3 separate regions of the Homo sapiens genome follow, and regions 2 and 3 are each linked to region 1. Evidence: promoter capture Hi-C in 16 types of primary human blood cells and fetal thymus (Javierre and others, 2016). All regions are on one chromosome and are shown on one strand. The core of a region is centred on a gene start or on the middle of the fragment in contact, and the rest is flanking DNA. Distances in the headings are between cores, read along the strand shown. Region 1 holds the start of PDE7B-AS1 (PDE7B antisense RNA 1). Region 2 overlaps AHI1-DT (AHI1 divergent transcript). Region 3 overlaps AHI1-DT (AHI1 divergent transcript).

Evidence for each region. Contacts are between HindIII fragments. The CHiCAGO score rates a contact against its expected background, and 5 or more counts as called.
Region 2: a contact is called between a fragment that was not itself captured here and the fragment with the promoter of PDE7B-AS1 in region 1, in 1 of 17 cell types (endothelial precursors). The highest score is 6.1, in endothelial precursors.
Region 3: a contact is called between a fragment that was not itself captured here and the fragment with the promoter of PDE7B-AS1 in region 1, in 1 of 17 cell types (total CD4 T cells). The highest score is 5.8, in total CD4 T cells.

The regions. Positions count from the first base shown.
Region 1 is chr6:136,071,438-136,074,137 of GRCh38, forward strand. It overlaps PDE7B-AS1 (PDE7B antisense RNA 1), which reads right to left and starts at 1,390. Exons shown (of 4, transcript NR_149042.1): 1 at 1,112-1,390. All of the region lies in intron 2 of PDE7B (phosphodiesterase 7B), which reads left to right. The HindIII fragment of the contact is 8,353 bases long and covers 1,131-2,700 here.
Region 2 is chr6:135,544,765-135,547,464 of GRCh38, forward strand. The region is part of intron 2 of AHI1-DT (AHI1 divergent transcript); the gene reads left to right. Among named protein-coding and RNA genes, the nearest start is that of AHI1-DT, 48 kb to the left of the region's middle. The HindIII fragment of the contact is 1,147 bases long and covers 819-1,965 here.
Region 3 is chr6:135,527,293-135,529,992 of GRCh38, forward strand. All of the region lies in intron 2 of AHI1-DT (AHI1 divergent transcript), which reads left to right. Among named protein-coding and RNA genes, the nearest start is that of AHI1-DT, 31 kb to the left of the region's middle. The HindIII fragment of the contact is 3,531 bases long and covers 1-2,700 here.

The DNA.
Region 1 (2,700 bases), core at 140-2,639:
TGGACAAGAGGAAAAGTAAACTGGAAACACACACACACGTGTGTATACATAAGTTTAATTCTGAAGTATTGAGAATTTTATTTTCAAAGTGCTAGAAAGGCAACAGAGAGATAGTTCATTTCACCATTACAGAAACACCAAGAAATTATAAACTTCTCTGGATGTCAGTTTTCTTACTGGAAAAATTATGTTAAAATTATATCACTCTAGCCAAGTGTAGTGGTGCATGCCTGTAGTCCCAGCTACTAGGGAGGCTAAGGTGGGAGGATCGCTTGAGGCCAAAAGTTCGAGGCTTCACTGAGCTATGATCACACCACTGCACTCCAGCCTGGGCAACTGAGCAAGATTCCACTCAATAAATTAATAAATGAGTGCAGCATTCTAATGTTTTAAGGATTAAATGACATGATCATATAACAATGCCTAACAAGGTACACAGTGCAGTAACAAGTAAATGTATTTTAGCTTTTTTCCTTGGTTTCCATTAACATTTTTTTCCTTCAGTTAGTCATTCTAAAAATATTTATTAAGCATCTATTATGTTTTAAGAATTAAATGAGGTGACCCTACAACAGTGCCTTAAAAGGTACACAGCACAAAAACTAAATATATTTTAGCTTCTTCCCTCAGTCCCCTTTAACATTTTTTTCATTCAGTCAGTCATTCTACAAATATTTATTGAGCATTTATTATGTAGCAGGCATCATAATTTGTCTTGAATATATAATGGCAAATACAATAAACACAGTTCCTGCCCTTAATGGGGAAAACAGAAAATAAATAGGCGGGGAGGCGAGGAGAGAGAAAGACAAATCGAAATTGTCCTAAGTTCTGTGAAGGACCTAAACAGGGTACAGGGAGAGGAAATGGTGGGAGAGGGGCACCTGGTTAGATAGCTCATGGCATAGCTGATACTTTAATTTTGTTTTTTAAGTAGAGATGAGTTCTTGCTGTGTTGCCCAGGCTGCTCTTGAACTCCTGGGCTCAAGCGATCCTCCTGCCCTGGCCTACTAAAGTGCTGGGATTCTGGGTGTAAGCCACCTTGCCCAGCCCTGTTTATTTTTCTATTGATCTTAAGAAAGAAAAAGATGTCTTCTAATAACTATTTTACCTTAATCAGTTTTAAGACAAGCTTTGCAGAGCTCCATGACCCTCTGAAGAGACCGTGGCCACCTTGTAGGTTAGAGTATTTCGGACAGATGGCTGTACTACTGAGAGCTTTTCTGGACATGGCCGTTCTGGCTAACTTTCATCTTGTCATTACATTTCCTTTTCTGAGAAAGGTTGCAAGGGTGGTTTTGACAGAGTGATGCTGTTGGTATTTAGAATCCTGACTTTCTTGATCCTTTTCGGTGGAGCTGCGGGACACATGTGCGATGGAAACTGGCCTGGTTGCCATGGTGGATAGTGTTCTGACAACAGTCACATGGGTCAGGTGTCCGTTTTGGATCTTTCAGGCCTGTCAGCAGCTCCTGATAAAGCTAGCCATGTGGTTTTTCTTGGCTCACCTGTATATCCTGGTAGGAACAGCTAAGAGCCACTCAACGCACCCTTCTCTTTTTGGAGAAACCCCAGGGAGTTGTGTTGCTTGGGGCTGGGCCGCTTGGAGACCATGTTCTTTGTCTTTTTGGCCTGCTCTCGGGGCTAAGGAGCATTGATGGAATATCTGAGATGGTGGCGTCGGCAGGGATGGCCATGCTGAAGTCTGTTCATATCACACAACTAGGGCCACAAGCAAAGTCCTCCATCTGAATGACATTCAGGGACAGTCCATAAACTCAACGTGTGCACAGAGTGCCTCCGTACGCCATGCATTGTGACAGGTCCTGGGGTAACAGATCTGAAAGACTCCTTCTTTGTGTGTAAAGAACATGATTGGGTTAATTAAGTAAAAGTGAATATTTTCTTTACTGAGTCATAAAATTACGGGCATATGTCTTAATCAGCTAAGGCTGTCATAACACAGCACCATAAACTCAATGGCTTAAACAACAGAAACTGATTTTCTCACAGTCTTACAGGCTGAAAGTCCAGGATCAAGGCATCTGTGGAGTTGGTTTCTTCTGAGGCCTCTCCCCTCGGCTTGTAGATGTCACTTCTATGGTCTTCCCTCTGGGCCTGTGTCCTAATTTTCTCTTCATACAAGTGCACTAGTCATAATGGATTAGGGCCTACTCCAGTGGCCTCATCTAACTTAACTGCCTTTTAAAAGACCCCATCTCCATATAGGTCACATTCTGAGGTGCTTGGGTTAGGATTTTAACATACGAATTTGGCAGGGGACACACTCTAGCCCATAACAGCATTTTTACAGCCACACATAGTAAAAATCTGGAAATACACCACCACATGTATCAGAGTATAAGTGGCAAAGGTTGATCATGATACGTATCTCTCAGTTGAGAATTTCAGCGTGATTTCTAAAAACTTGTTGTGAAAGTACAATGCGCAGAAAACTGAAATTTCACCAAAAGTCCCATATCTGAAGCAAATAAAAAAATTTAGTTCCCATATTCTTTCCAATAGAAATAATTCCTTCGTGGAGAATTTATGCCTATCTCGTTCCTATGACAAAAAGGAATTTGGCCAGCCTGGCCAACATGGTGAAACCCTGTCTGTACTAAAAATACAAAAAAATGAACTGGGCACGGTGGCACACACCTGTAATCCCAGCTACTTGGGTAAAAGAATTACCTGAGG
Region 2 (2,700 bases), core at 142-2,641, 530 kb before region 1:
GTCCACATGCAGAATATGCACAGCTATCCTCGCTGGTGACCTTCTTGCTTTGTGGATGTCAAAGAAAGTAGACAGCTATATGGACTCTGCCACCTGGATAACTCTAGAGGTGAGTGGTAGGGGTTATGAACAGCACTGAGGAGCTGGGAGTGGCTGTTTGTTGGGTTTCTAGCTTCAGGACAAGTTCTATGAGTTTCCTGAGCCCTCATGATCTAAAACTATGAAGCATGATGGTGCTGGGGTGAATACTCATTGTGTTGCTTGCTCGGTACTCACTATCCTAACTTTGTTCTGAAGGACCCATTTCTCCCTCACTCTGTGTGTTTCAAGTAAAATATGTACTGAAGAAAATGCCACCTATTTTTATAAATACTGTGAACTAAGAATGATTTTTATATTTTTAAGTGGCTTCAACAAAAATCAAAATAATAATATCTAAATTTCAGTGCCCATAAAGTTTTATTGTAACTTAGCCATGCTAATCCATTTATGCATGGCTGCTTTTGCTCTACAATGGTGGAGGTCAGTAGTTGTGACAGAGACCATGTGGCCTGCAAAGCCATAAATATTTACTATCTGGTCCTCTATGGCAAAAGTTTGCCAGCCTCCACCTCAGACTGTCGCTGTGGTTAGAGTCCTATGATCACAGTGGGTGGTTCAGCACAAGACCCAGGTTTAAACGTCTGGTCTTTTCTTTGAACTACTTGGGAAGCTAGCTCTAGCTAGCTAGCTAGCTAGCTAGCTCTTCTGCTGCCTCAGGTGAGAAACTGAGGATGTCAGGAAGCATCAGGCAGCCCCTAAGGATGAGGTCGTAATCAAGCTTGATTGAAACCATTCCAACTCTAGAATTTTCAGCTGTGCCAATCAATACATTTTCTTTAATCTTAAATTAGCTAGCATTTTAAGATCTTTGTTGCTTACAGCCAAAGAAACTTAACTGATAAAGTCATTTGGAAGAAATCCTACTCCAGGTATACAGGGAACAGAATTAATGAGTTCCCAAGATGATTGCCTTATGGTGGCAACAGCAGTTGCCTGGCAGAAGATAGGAAATCTGTCTTAATAGTGCCTTCTAGGACCCAAATTTGTCCTGCTCTGGTAGAAATCCTAGAAGATCAGGAATACAGGAGATGCAATTAGTGTTTAGGATCTTCATTTAACAGCACACATCTGTGTCTTCCCTTGGCATAAATACTGGGAGAATGCAGTACTCAGGATTTTTATATCCTCTTATTGGAATTACCCACATAATATATGATTTATTGCCTATAGACTTCTCAATTTCTATGTACACAATAGCAGCACTACCATATTTTTTAATTCAAATGAAATGCATGAAGATGTTTGGGTAGAAGTAATAGAAAAGTTTAGTAATGAATAATGTTTCATTATTCTGTCTATTTTCTGAACATCAGTCATTATCAAATATAGACTCATAATCAAATAATAATACATACACCTACAATATTTTGATTATGATGTTTTTAGAAACATACATCTCTTTTCCCTCCTACTGATTAATCTCCTTGCTGTTTAAGCAGCAAAGCTGCTTTCCACTCAGTATCTCAGGGAAAGGATATGACATGGTAGACAACAGAAAACAAATGAAACAACTCCCCCACACTCCCCAAATTCAGGAAACTTCCTGGCAAAAAGCTCACTCCTTTAGGACAATAGAGAGTCTCTGGGTAGAGCCAAATTATATAAGAGAAACATCAAGGGTGACTGTTGCTTTCGCCTTCTGGAGAGGAAAAGATTCCCAGGGGTTTATATAGAAAAGGAAGGGGAAAAGAGGGAACAGGGAGGATGTGGTGGCAGTGCGTTTGGATGGGTTTCAAAGAGGGAGCCCCAGTTCCATCAAGGACCTTGGAGCCCCTGGAGGCTTCTCCCTCGGGTTCTGTGGGGCCAAGGAGAGGCGTCCCCTCAATCCCACCTGGATTCCCTGCTGGATCAGCCCTAGAAGGAAGCTTCCTGGGGCTGCTCCCACTTCTGCTTAAGTGTGGCTACACCGTGGAGGGTGGGTCCTTAGGAATGTGGCAAGGGCAGCAAGATTGAGGGGGCCATAGTGGTGCGGGCATGTGGAGGGGGCACAGGCTTTGGCCCGCGGGCCTGTGTTCCTATCCCTCCCTCTGTCGTTCCCTGTGACCAATGGGCGGAGGGCCCATTCTTGGCAGAAACCCAGGGAAGTGGCAAAATTCCCAGACAGTGTTGTGAGAGCAGTAGAATGTTCACAACCTCCTACCCTTGCCCTAGCATCAGGGTTTGACAGAAAAATTAGATTGAATGAAATAAAAATATTTCTCACCCACTTGCGTTCATGGATGGAGATTGATGACCTTCTAGGTCAGACACATTTGTTTCCATTAGTGTGGAAAATCAAGAGTTGACTTCACTCCTCAGTTCTTCCAAGGGTGACAGTTAAATTTTGGCTGCACACCAGCAGCCAATGGCATGCAAGTGTTAGAGCAGGTTATCTGCATTTCATGTGCTGGATTTTGCTTCACTGCAATGCACTATTGTTCATTTTGAAGAACTGCTTTTTCTTCATTTGATTATGAAGTCCATTCTTCACTGAGAAAGGGTGAATCACTGGGTTTCATTATGGAGCTCTTGAAGTTCAGGGAGAGCGATTTTCATACTAAGTTCATTTTCTTTAACATATAACCAGTGAAATAATAGAACAAAAATACATTTATCTTT
Region 3 (2,700 bases), core at 96-2,595, 540 kb before region 1:
CCTATCCCAATTTTCTCCCCTCTGCAGCCCACTGGCTAAGGCCCTATTACAACCCAGACAACCTCTCCCATTCCGAACATAAAACTGTCATCTGTTGGATAATAACATTTCCCACATAACCAGTTCCTGGTGCCATGCTCCCACCTGGCTTGAGATGGTGACTGTCACCATTAATCTGGTTTGGATTCAGGTTTGGTATGTCCTGTTAGATGCTGAGACTTGGGGGAGCTTATAGTCATATACCTCAGACCTCCCCTATCCCCACCAGTCTTGGCTTACTTCTCTCTCTCCTACAGATCTACAGCTGGGGTTCTCTTCTGGCTCTCCTGCCAAGGCCAATCAGATCGCAATACAAAAAAGTAACACTTTCCAGCATTCTGTAGAGTCTGATTTTCTAAACAGTTCTTTAGATTTTAATGCATCTCAATAATAGTTATAAGTAACATTTTATTTTTTTCTGTGGCAGATTAGGCCTCCTGCAAAATAGTCATTTTCAAAAATTGTCTAAGATTCAGATGCCGCACCCAATGTTTATGCTTTTTGCAGCAATATGGTCCTAATTCAACATCATGCAGCGTGCAAATCAGTGTTTCTTCTAACTTCAACAGTGATAAATATTTATTAAGCCTCCACTATGTTCATGGAACTATACCAGGTGCTGCTATAACTATTTTTCCTTTCCAGGAAAAATAAATTCAAATATGGAATAAAAAGCCCAAACTCATGAAACTGGACTGACTTTGCTTCTTAAAAATTCAACATGCTGCAGCTGCATGCTTAAACCTGGTTCAAACAGGATGATGAAATAAAACATTATTATTGTGGGAATATAACACTGTCTAAATAAATAGCCAACATGAAAACTGTCTCTAAAACCCATAGCATCTGTATGTGCAGACTGTAAGTAAGTTATATAATTCCTCCACTATTCTGTAACATGGCCAATTCAGAATGTCTTACCATTAATCTTGAAGACATTTAAAGATGTTCACTTTTCTAACTCTTCCCTTTGAAAATATATTTGAACCTTATTTGCAATAAAAATCTCATAATATTGTATTACTTTTTGATGTGTCATTTCTGTTAAATGGTGCCTGGAATAAATCAGCTTTGACTTTTCAGATTACATGTGTTGTTCCAGAGTTTTAGTAGTTACAACATACATTTACATTTTCTAATGTCCTCACTATAATGAAGATAAACACAGGGGTAATTTTTCTCATGTCATGTGTATATAGGATAAGATTACCAGGCCAACAGTGTCACTATCAGATTTCTTTCAGAAAGTGTTTAATGTTGAATTTTAATCACATGCTTGAACAACTAGGACTTTTTGGGTTTTATTTTTCAAATATGTGTTAGTAAGAAAACAGACTGAAATGTGGAATGTACCAGATAAATCTCTTTGGTGATTTTACATATCTGTATGATCATGTTTGACTTAGAAATACCAATCTTTTGATCTTACACTTCAAATGTTACATCTGTGAACATAAAAATCTATATGGCTATAACTTTCCAGGAAGAAATCTTGCTCAAGTAACTAATAAATGATCCAAGTTTTAGATAATTCTGACATAATTCCAACATATTTCCTACAGTATTTTGCTTTAGAAGACTTTCTGACCCAGATATTTATGGCTAAAGTCCATATTTTATAGATCAAATGATAATTACCTTGTAGAGGAAAGCATTTGTTTTTGAATAGTGCCAGGAGCAAGTAAGTGTAACTAATATTACACGATAGATATTTCTGCAGATAAGTGAGCTTAACTCTCGTGGTTAAAACTTATGGTTAAATTTCCACAGATTAGTAAAAGTTCTCAGTTTTATTAACAATTCTCCATTTTCATTAAAAGCCCTACTTTCCTGATAGTTAGGCTGATGAGAAGTTAGTTCAGAGGGCTGCTCATTCCCATATTCATCACTTTTTATTCAGTAATGTTATTTTATGAATAATAATTTTCTTATTTGTTGAGGCGTATATCATGATGTTTAGATGTACATTACTATTTGTCCAATGCAACTAATTAGTTAAATAGGAATGAGTTGTAATGATCAGAGGTAATCCCAGAAAATATTTTTTCAAGTTTACAAACTTATAACTTTATAACTTTACAAGTTATAAAGAGACCTTCATAACAGTTAATTAAATCAAAGAATCCTTTAGTTGGACCATAAGCACTAACAGTCGGCATTCCGTGAATATTTGTTATATGTTTGGTATTTTGCTAAGCACTTCATTTTTTTTAAGTGTCATTTAATTTTCACATGAACCCTATGAAATATGTATCATTATTAGTCTTATTTAAATGTTGCTGAAGCTGATGCTTCAAGGAAAAGTATCATGCTTAAGGACGAACAGCTACCAGGTGGGGAACCGGGGACCTGAACTGGGTAATCTAACTTAACTTCTGCTTCAGTATCATTTTAGTTATATCTTTCTTGTACAAGTATGTCTCATCTTCCCTGTTAACTCTTCATTGATAGGAAAGACCATCTTTTTTTAATCTTTATGTTCCATTACTTGCCTTGGGCACAGTAGAGACCTATAAATGTTTGGTGCTCACATTTAATAAAAATGTAGTAATAATAGCACTATGATATATAGCAATAATTTTTTTTTTTTTACTTTTTAAGGGTTAAATAGGGTCAACGTGATTGACTCACTTGTTTTTGCTTATTGTACTTAAACGTCTA